Linked DNA regions of Homo sapiens: region 1 is linked to region 2. The links are contacts of gene promoters, found by promoter capture Hi-C in human tissues and cell types (Jung and others, 2019). All regions are on one chromosome and are shown on one strand. Each heading gives the region's core, a stretch centred on a gene start or on the middle of the fragment in contact. The rest is flanking DNA. Distances are from core to core; before and after follow the strand shown. Region 1 has its middle 10 kb from the start of MLPH. Region 2 holds the start of LRRFIP1 (LRR binding FLII interacting protein 1).

Region 1 (5,043 bases), core at 549-3,048, 150 kb after region 2:
TCCCAAGAACCCTCTTGGGAATAGCCCTTTCCCTTTTCCCAAGGATGCTGATACCTGGATACTGTGCAGAGTCTTCACCTGAGATGGTTGACTTCCAATGTGATGCTTGTCCTTCTCAAGATCTGTCTCCATCTCTTCTTATTTCCTCTACACAAATAACTAGGGCCAGGTCCCAGTATAGCCCAAGTGGGAAAATAAAGTTTCTTTTCTAGGAATAAACAGCATCTAGTGAACATAACTGCAAGTCTTGGCTAATATATGTCACCAAGCGACAGAGAGAAATGTGTCTGAATAAGCCACGGAGATATTGAATTCAGTTTGTTGATTTGGAGGAACTTGTCTATGTCTTAGAATTTGACTTCTTGGCAAGGATACTTGGAAATCATTCAAATACACTGCTGAGATGGCACTGCGAAGCTTGGGCATGATGTAAATGAGGTGTAGATGTTATGCTTGCCTTGGCAGAGTATTGAGTAGGAACTTAGAAGGCTTAGGGAGGTAGAAATGTGAGAATGGATTTATTATGTAAGATCAAAGACTCTATCATTTGACTGTGTTTCCTGGGAGGGCCCAGAGGACACTTTCTTCACCAAAGCAATAAGAAATATACCAGTGTGGGGAGTGTCTGCATCTTTTGGCAACTCAATACTGGCTGTTCTCTGAAGCTGGTATTAACAGTAGGAAGTTACTCCATGGAACTACACTCTGTAGTGTCATGGGGGTTGCTGGGATTCTGAAATAGAAGAGTTCAGATAGAGATCCTCAACTATCAGAGGTAGGGTGGACAGAATTTCTGTAATGGTAAAAAATCCAGAAAAGCAACCAAACATAAGTGTCTATGGGATGGCTAGTAGACTATGGTATTCCTTGGGGCTCAAGAAATTAGCAGACAATTAGGGTACTGGTTGATTGTGCACACAGATAATTCAAGGACTGGTGAACGGAAGGCTGATATCAGATGCTGCAATGAAAAATCACAATCCCTCATTCAGTTTCCATATCTAAACCAGTTTTTATAGACCTAGACCCCATCGACTAAAGGAGAAGCAAGGTCCCTTCGAGGAAGGACTTTACAGTGTCACTACAATATATACCATAAATATTATACATTGTTTTCCCCAAAGGGCCCATGGTTATTTACCAGGATAACTGTACATAGGGGAAAGGGAAACAGTCATACTTTGGAGGGTGATTGGATACAGATTCTGAGCTGACATTAGTCAGGGGAGCCATCACGCTGTCATCAGAAAAGATCTGAAACAGCTTTTACGTGGGAAGGACAACAGTACACCTTCTCTCTATTGTCTGTCCCAGGGCTATATCAAATCTCTGATTACTGTCACAATATAATCCTCAGGAACCTTAAGCACATTGGTGCAACATATGGTGATATTTTCCAGATTAGAACTGGTGAAAAGGAGAGTAGAAAGATGCTGAATACTCTGGTAAGACATATGTGCATTGGGAGGCCAATCTTATGATGTTCCAGGGATATAAAACTTAGGCTAGGTTCTTAGGGGACTAAAGATGTAGAGTCTGCTGGGACATACCTTCAAAAGTATAGGGCAAATTATTCTCTTTGCAGGCGCTATGACAAGGACAGAGACATAGCACTAGGTGGAACTTTGGATGTTGGAGGCAGCACATGGCTCACTTGGGAATACTGCTGCAATCCATTTGGGAAGTGATTTGGAAGGCTGGCAGGTTTGAGTGACGCTTAGAGCGTGAGAAAATTCTGTAGCAGGTCCAGGTATTAATGCAAGCTTCTCTAGTTGTTCAGGGAACTGGAAGAGAATAAGGTTGAAAGACTGGAGACAGAGAGGTATGTGCAGGGATCTTGGGAATAGGCGCCATATGTGAATCTTCTATCTCATGTCAATGCTTACCAGAGGCCACCTAGTACAAAAAGGACACTGAATGAATGGGTATACTGGGTCATTTACCCTATGGAGTCAGACTGTGTCCTTGGTCACCTCAATGTTCATGCCAGGGGACCAGGAGGGAGGCCATATGGTCCGACTACGTGGGCTCTATCTCACCAAGCCTGATCTAGCTACTTCTGTTGCTGGATATCTGACTGATGCTGAGCTCTTTACATGGCACCATCCCCTGAGAAGACCAAACAATCCCTTGGAGCTGGCGTAGATTTGGGGTATTTAGTGGGAGTTCGTGAGAGGTAGGTTGGAATGTGCTATTGAAAAGGGTTTAGGATTTTGGTTCTGAAACAAAATGAGTAGACTCACTTTTCCCTACTCCTCCCTTCTAAAAACTAAATACCATGGAAATTCTTTAACAGACAATGATAAAAGGACTCTGAAAGTTGGGTAGAAGAAGGTAGACTGGCCAGAGACCTCAGGACTGGAGGAAAGATAATATGGTGGGTTCCTTAGACTTTTCTTTTTATCTCCCATGTAGCCTAGACTGGGTGTCAGAGATGTCTGCAACCAGTATCTACAACAGGAGATATTCTTTAATGTTTTGTAATAATCTTTTATTATGTTTGAACATAATAACCAAATGACCAGAATATAATACAAACCCACTTGTCATACCAAGAACCAGAAAAAAACCACCCGAGTGAGAAAAGACAATAAATAGATGTTGATACTTTGATGCATCAGATGGTAGAATTATCTGGTAAGAATTTTAAAGCAGTTATTATAAATACGCTTCATAAATTAACATCAGTGCTTCAAAACCAATGCCATAAAAATGCCTCAACAATCAATGTCAAGTCATTGATTTACAGAACATTAATACTTAGAATCAGGAGACTGGGATGTCACACCCACTAGCTGTGTGACCTTGGGCAAGATTTCCAGCGTTACTGGGCACTGATTTCTCTGTCTCCAGAGTGGAGGTTAGGTAGACCATGCAACAGCACACTGGCAGGTCCCGTTAGTTGTCTACTCAATAACCATGTCCCTCGTATGCTAACAGAACCCTAACTCCAGGTAGAGGAGCAAGGACTTCAACTAAAAATAGGCATTTTCCAGCCTCCCTTGCAGTGAAGATAACCTGCATGGACACTTCTGGACAATCGAAGTGCAAGAGGTTCCTGTCCCTTCCAGAATAAACAGGAAACCCTTACTAGGAGAAAGCCCTTTACCTCCTGTCCTTTCTCCCTTCTTCCTGCCTGGATCTTGAATCTGAGATCTGCAGCTACAGCAAGTATCTGGCAACCAGGAGGAGACCAGCAATAGGATGGTGAGGATTGGGGATGGAAAGAAAGCCCAGTGTCCTGACGCATCGCTGAGCTGTGCTCCCAGGCTGACAGGCGACTTCTGAACTCCTTGTTATGGGAGAAAAACACACCTGCACATCTAGGCAACTGTCGGTTGCGTTTCCTGAGCTTGCAGCTGAATGCATTCCTAACTGATTGAATGAGGAAGATGAGGAGGAGGGTGCCAGCTACAATCCTTTCAATGCCAGGTGCTGTTCAAGCGAGTTTACGGGTTCAACCACATTTAATCCTCACAGCTACTAAATGAGGCAGATGCCAGTACGGTCCCCACTTCAGAGAGGACTGAAGGGAGGCATGGGTCCTTGTCTGAGAGGCAGGCGCAGTGAGTCAGGGGTGGAGTAGGAGTGTGTCCACAGCACTTCCGAGTGCCGGCGTATTCACAAATGGCTCATAGGTTCTGTTGTTGTGGTTACCTTAGAGGATTTGTGTGCACGCGCGTGTTTGTGTGTCAACACCTCTAGGATGGTGCTCATGGCATGGGAATTCCTTTCCTCGCTTCCTGCATCCTTCCCCTGGGTCTACTACCTTTTGCCAGGGACTGGGGACATAGGAAAGGATAAAGATCGAGGGCATCCTCCAAGGCTGATCCCGACATCCCCGGGACTGACGTACGGCCTCCAGACCGATGTCAGTATCCTCTCTGCCAAGAAAAGGGGTCCCCGGGCAGGCAGCGCGGACCCCCTCGGGGCCCCGCCGGCTTCGGGCTGTTTCCCGCCGTGACTCCTCCGCTCCGGGAGGGGGCGACAGAGGCCGACGGCTGCAGCCGGGCGCGCCGCCAAAGCTCCTGCTTGTAGGGCGGGCCGGGGTCCGGGGTCTCGGGGTCCTGGGAGGCGGGGCGGTCGGTCCGCTGGGGGCGGTGAAACCGAGCTCGGCTCCTGCCCGGCGTGGCCTCCGTTTCCCAGGCTTCTGAGCTCAGGGCCCCGGCTGGGCTTCGGGAGGGTCCTCCCCGCGCCGCCCCGGCCCTTCCGTCCGCCCCCCGCGGCCCGGCCCCGCCTCGGAGCCATTCTGGGCGCGGCCTGGGCGGCCCTGGGGTGATTACTGCCCCGGCCGCAGTTCCGCGCGCCCCCGCGTCTGCCGTCCCCGGACCCCGAGACCCGAGATGTGCGCCCCCGGCCCTCCAGCCCTTCCCGGGGACCCCGGGGCCTCGGAGCCCCGCGCCCACGCATTGTTTCCTTGGAAATGGAGCCCCCCAGCCCCACGTCATGTTGCCGGGAGCCCCTCGTTACAGCAAGCGGCTGCCGGGAATCAGTGGCCACTAGGACCTTTACCCCGAACGCTACGCAGCCGTGGGGCCGCTCTCCTCCCCGCCCTTTTGTGGGATTCAAAGTCAAACCACACTAAGCCATAAATAAGTGGTTGTGGGAATCCAGCGCTGGGCCCCTCCATCCAACAGACTTTATCCACAAATTACTTGAATGCCTTTTTGTGTGTTTAGTATCAAATTAAAAAAATTCTCCACTCTTAATGCCCCTGCCTGGCGTATCGGCGGCCCAAGCCTCTGCGTGGTCAGCCCCTGGGGAATGACTTTGCAGGGGGGCCTGCATCGCATTGCACCATTGGGCTTTCTGCTCCCTGAGTTCTGCTAGGGGAGTCCCTGGGGTCGGGGAGCCGGAAGTGCTGGGATTTCCCACCATCCTCAAATACAAGGTCAAGATCCCTGGACCGTTGCCCATCCAAGCCCCAGGAACTCCAGGCCTGCAGAGGCCTCCAGGGACCCACCCACAGCCGCCTGGGGCTCTCCAGCCAGGGTTGCGCCCCATCCCCAACCCCAACCCTAACCTTAGCAAGCACTACTGCTT
Region 2 (5,777 bases), core at 1,001-3,500:
GCTCTCAACCCAAGGAGTGTTCCCTTGCCTTCCTTTTCAATCTATTTTATAAAAACCAGCAGATAGGCTGGGCGCAGTGGCTTACGCCTGTAATCCCAGCACTTTGAGAGGCCAAGGCGGGAAGATCACTTGAGGCCAGGAGTTTGAGACCAGCCTGGCCAACACGGTGAAACCCCGTCTCTATTAAAAATACAAAAATTAGCCGGGTGTGGTGGTGCGTGCCTGTAATCCCAGCTACTGGTGAGGCTGAGGCAGGAGGATCTCTTGAGCCTGGGAGGTGGAGGTTGCAGTGAGCCGAGATCATACCACTGTACTCCAGCCTGGGCAACAGAGTGAGACTGTGTTAAAAAAAAAAAAAAAAAAAAAAAAGAAGAAAGAAACACCAGTGGATAAAAGGCAAACTCTGGAAATTTTCATTCTTCTCATTCTTCTGCCCCATAACCACTGACATCAAGACAAGGCTTGCGATTCACTGGCCACCTCTGGCCCTTGCAGGGAACACTTGTAAGGCACTGTGGTCAAATGCATACATAAGTGACTGTCTTCACAGGAGGGAGTTATACTCAAGCTACTATATTTAGCAAATGTCTATATTTAGCCAAAGGTCCTTTAAATGCCTTGTACTTCTTTTGTTTATTAATTAATGTAACAGACATAGACAAACACCTAGTATGTGCCTGGCTCTGTGCTGAGCTCTTGGGATACAAAAGTAAGATATTTCCTGTCTGGGTGTCACCTTCTACAGGTGGACAAATAATGATAAGGTATCCTGACTGCCATGCCAGGCGCGGGCATGCCATGGAGGGCCGTGGAGCCAGGGAGACTTAGGCCTGGTGCGATGTGAGAGGGCTGAGTCTGGAAGGTCTCCTGGAGGTCACAGTGGGCTTCCAGGAATGAATAAGGGTTTGCCTGGAAAGCCCTTTTCTGTATCATACAGAGAAAAACAGAAGTCTTTATTCACTCAGTAGTCAACAAATACTGAGTGACTGCCACATGTCCGTAAGAGCAAAATCAGGTATTTACAACTACAAACACCTAAGGATTGGTTACAGAGTAGATCCCCCAGAATATCTGACGGATACAGCCAGACACCACAGTCCAAATGGCTTGGAGGTGTTTCCTGTGGGAAGAATCACATGTGGAAAAGCCAACACGGAAAAGAACCTGTAAGGCGGGTTACAAGGCAGAGACTTTCTTTGCATTCATACACCCACCTGGCACACAGTTCAAATGGTACAAAGGGAACACAGTCAAAAATTAAGCTTCCTTTGTCCCCCTGGGGCCGCAACCTATTGGCTCCCCTTTTCCCAAGCTGCTGCTCTCTGTCCCTGTACGGCTTTCTGGATGTCATGTACATTCTTTAGCCTTAAGGTAGAATCCTTGCGGAAGGAAAAAAAAAAAGGCATTTGTACAAATACCCATTCTAGTGCGCCTTCAATTTGTCACAGGTAAAGTTCATCACCAAACATGATCTTAGTTACAATAAACTCTGTCCAGGAAACTTTAATGAAGACGTTTCAGTGTGCCTGGACCCGTTTCCAGGCTCAGTCCTGAAAGAAAAATCACAGTGATCCCCAAGTTCATCTCTGAGCTGCACCTTGAGTGACATCGATGGATGGATGACAAATGGTCACCTGAGCGACTCGGCCATTTCAGCAGGGCCATGTGGCCTCCGGCGACCGTCCACTGCCTCCAGGTCGGGCCTAAGCCCCCGCCTCCTCCCATGCCGCACAACAAAGCGGGGCGCTCGCCCCCACCCGGCCAGCCCGGGCCACCTCGCGCGCTGGCGGCGCCCGGCTCCTCTCCCGAGGGCGCAGCGGCCGACGGTGGCCGGGGTGGGGGAGGGCGCGCAGCGTCGCGGGCTGGGCCCGGGGCTGGAGAACGGGTGCGGGGTCCGCAGGCCTCGGAGATCGGGGCCGGGGCGCAGCGCCTGGGGATCAGCGCCCCGGCGCGCGCCTGCCCGGCCCACCCGCCTGGAGCCGGACGCGCAGTGGCACAGACGCACAGCGGGACAGACGGACGCCGGAGAGACCCTGACAGCCGTCCGGCCCCCGCGCCCGCCCGGCGCCCCCCGGCTGCCCTCCCGGAGCGCTCACCTCCCGCGCGATCTGGTTGAGCGCGTCGTCCTCCGCCGTGAGCCGCTCCCGGTTGGGGAGCCGCTTGCGCCCCGATCCCTGGGTGCCCATGTCCATCGACCGCGTCGCCCGCAGCTGCCGCGGGGCCCGTTGCTCCAGCCGCTCGCGCCGCCCCGGCCCGGCCCCGGCCCCGGCCCCTCCCTCCGCCGCGGCGTCATGGCGTCAGCGGGCGCTGGGCCGGGGACGCGGGGACGCGGGGGGACGGGGGCCGCGGGGACCCGGGGGAAGCCAGAGCCGGAGGTCCGCAGCGCGGGCCAGGGACTGCAGGGGCCAGGGACGGCGGGGCGGGGGACGGGGGCGGGGGGCGGAGACGCCAGGTGTCAGGGACGATGGGGGTCCGATACCACGGGGACGCTGCGGATGCCCAGGGCCGGGCACGCGGGACCTGAGGGACCGGGAGCCCCGGAGGGTGGACTTTGCGGGGACTGTTTGGCGGGCCGGTAATCGCGGAGCGACGCGCGCCAGGGCGGTGGGCACCGGTTGAGTGGGGACCTGAGCGGAGAGCGGGGGGGTAGGAAGGCTTTCAGAGGCCTGAGTTGCCTTGAGGGGTTTGCACGGAGGGGTGAGCACAGGATTTGGTTCAGCCTGGCGCTCCCCATTCCGCGGTGAGTCGGGGTGGAAGTCCCTCGCCGGGGTGAGAGCTAGGCTCTGGGGTCAGGCCGAGAGGTGCTCGGATCCGCCCGCCACCGCCGCTCCTGTGACCTTGGCCAGCCTCCTGGGCGCCGGCTTCACAGCGGCATGGTGTGGATGTGTGCGTTTCTGTCTTTACACGCGTGTTCTCCGTGCTAGCATCCATCCTTCTCCCCGCTGTCTGCCCCCTGAGATCAAGGACTTGTCACTTCTCTGGTGGGTCCCCAGCCTCTAGGATCGGGGCAGGTGCGTCGCAGCTCTCTCCTAGTTGTTGAAAAAGTAATGAACTTACCTGTGCTCTCTGAAGCTCACAGTCTATGCTCCAGAGGTGGATTTAAAAGTAAAGCAAATCGGAGGATTAGGTAGGGGTTAAAAGCCCCTGCCTAGGGCACGGCAGGAGCACCGGGTGGGAAAGTTACTGGTGTGTTTGGGGTATGGGGAGAACTTCAGTGTGGCTGGACCTGGGGAAGGATGGGAGGGAGGGTAGTGATGGTAGAGGAGAGGAGGCTGTACTGAAGTCACCTGTGATTTTTTTCCCCCAGTGATAAGGACAGTTAACATTTCGGTGTATTTCCCACCAAGTGGTGTGACCAGATTGCTTTGGATTCTTAAGGAGGTGGCCTGGAAGCTGTATGAAGGTGGGAAGAGGAAGAGGGCCCTTCCACCCACAGTGGCAGGGAAAGCTGTTGGAGGTTTCATTGCAGGGAAAAGACAGCGAGTCCAGTGACATGGGAGGGAGGGCAGATCCAGGTGACATTGCTCTGGGTGCCTGAGCTGACGCAGGTGGGTTGGCAGGGCTGACTGTGGCATTGTTCATGACTGAACTCCGGGAGCAGAAACTGCACCTGCACATTGTAGGCACTAAGGAAATAGGTGTTGACTGAATCTTCCAGGCCATATTTACATTACTTCAGAGGCCATACTCCTTAAGTGACATAGTCCTCCTTGGGGGAAACCTTGAGCCGTGGCCACTTGCACTGCCTTGGTCTTGCTGGTGGCTGCTCACTGTTTCCCAGCCCCTGGGGCACTGTGGGGACTGTGCGTCTTTGCCGAGGCTGGTCCCCATGAGTTCACTCATTCCTGCACCCACACCTGCTGCCTGCCAGCTGCTGAGCTGGAGGCTGGGGCATAGCTGTCCGAGAGGCAGACACGGCTGCTGCCTCTCAGGGCTGACTTGAGATGCCTGGAGCTCCTTAACTAAAGCCATATCCAAGTTCCAACGTCTCCTTTCTAAAAGAAGTCTCCCTTTGCTCCCTGTCCTTCATTGGAACTTTGAGCCACTTTTTGCTAACACCTAAATCCTCCATCCTGATGTGTTGAGGCCAGGAGGGCAGGCGCTGACCCCATCTTCCTCATCTTTAAGCCTTCACCAGGGACTGGCTGTGCCAGTTGCTTAGTGGAGTGCAGTGGTTGAACTTGTGGAACAGAGTTCAGTTCCCAACCCTCCTCCCCACTTTCCCTGTTGGATTGTTGTCCAGAGACAGGAGATTCACTGCCGTGGGGACTGGCCAGAGGTGTGTCTGAACAGCTCCCGCTGGTAGACAGTGTTCTCGGACACTGTGGTGAATTCAGCTTCCTGCCCCTCCCCCATCATCTGTCCACTTCCAGAAAAGAGCCGCCTTTCAGAAATCATCAGAAACAACATTGCTGGGTCCTCCCATGACCCCATGACATAACAACTTCCTGGCTACAGTCCTCTTCCCCTGGCGATGTGCTCTCAGAGTGGACCGGTTCTCACTTCAGAGTCAGTTTCCGCCTCTAAATGGAAATACGGGTGCCCACTGTCTTAGTTCCTTTGTGCTGCTGTAACAGAACGCCTTAGACAGGGTCATTTATAAAACCACGGAAATGTATTGTTCACAGCTGTGGAGGCTGGGAAGTCCAGCATCAAGCCTCCAGCAGAATCAGTGTCTGGTTGAGGCCCATTCCTCACAGATGGTGCCTTCTGTGTGTCATCTCATGGTGGAAGACGGGCTCCCTCCAGGCTTTTGTGTAAGGGCACTCATCGCGTTCATGAGGTCTCTGCTTCAGGACCTGGTCACCTGCAGGCCCCACCTTGCATTGAGGGTTAGGTTTTGACATATGAATGGGGGGGCCACCGCCATCCAGACCATGGCCTCTACCTTGTCAGGGTAGGGACAGTATTCTAGGCAAGAGCCCTTCCAGGGCTTCACACACAGGCAATCGATCAATCATCCTTACAGCTCCTGTCCTCAAAGGCCCAGGTCTGGAATGAATGGTGAACAGCAGTTCCTGTCTGGGCAGAGGGGAGCTAGACAGAGGTATCAGGCAGCTTGGTGGGTCTTCTCCGTGCTTGGGGTGCCTCCTGGAGGAAGATAAAGACCTGCAAGACTCCATCATGCTGATCCATGGGTTCACCGAAAAATTGTGGCTTTTCCTCCACCCTTGACCGTCGGCCCTCCCTGCGTGGAAGTGCATGAGCCTGTTTCCACTGAGAAGACTGGCCTCTGCCACCAGCACTACTGACCCCTCCCATCTAGCCCTTTTCCTATTCCAGATGGTGACACTACCCACCAGGGCTTACTTCAGAGCAGGAAATTGAGAAACTATATCACAGATCTGATGTCCAGGGCCAGAGAATTAACATGTTCATCTCCAAGCCTGGTACCAAGTCCCTTCACAAAAATACAGATGCCACCTTCAGGAAGCCTCCACGAGAAAGTGGAGGCAGCCAGGGAAGCCTTGGCAAGGGAAACCACACAGCGGCGCCGTCCCCAGCGCAAGTTTGCCTTGGTTCAGGAGCTCAGTGGGCAAGCCCTGGGGGCTGGCTGGGAAAGGAAGTTGATGAGCAGCTACGGAGGGGCGTCCAGTCTGCATGAGGACTCAGAGCTTCTCAGGCAGAGAGCCATCTGAGCCATCATGTGGGCCATAACGTGACTCACTCTGGGTCCATTGAGAGCATCATCCGCGTGGGCCTACCTCAAACCTCTTTCACCAGCACTCCAGCCTTGCTCTTCCAGTTCCCAGAGGATGGAAAGCCCTGCTTTGGAT

Evidence for each region. The method cuts DNA at HindIII sites, captures the fragments that hold promoters and counts their contacts. A contact is called where the count stands out against the background at its distance.
Region 1: a fragment that was not itself captured here is called in contact with the fragment with the promoter of LRRFIP1 in region 2 in 4 of the 25 tissues and cell types used here (IMR-90 fibroblasts, adrenal gland, mesendoderm cells and 1 more).

What each region holds. Positions count from the first base shown.
Region 1 is chr2:237,474,530-237,479,572 of GRCh38, reverse strand. No RefSeq gene overlaps it. Among named protein-coding and RNA genes, the nearest start is that of MLPH, 10 kb to the left of the region's middle. RefSeq lists silencers at 3,877-3,956, 3,977-4,386. The HindIII fragment of the contact is 6,464 bases long and covers 1-5,030 here.
Region 2 is chr2:237,624,060-237,629,836 of GRCh38, reverse strand. It overlaps LRRFIP1 (LRR binding FLII interacting protein 1), which reads right to left and starts at 2,250. Exons shown (of 24, transcript NM_001137550.2): 1 at 2,097-2,250. The coding sequence starts at 2,192. The HindIII fragment of the contact is 12,440 bases long and covers 1-5,777 here.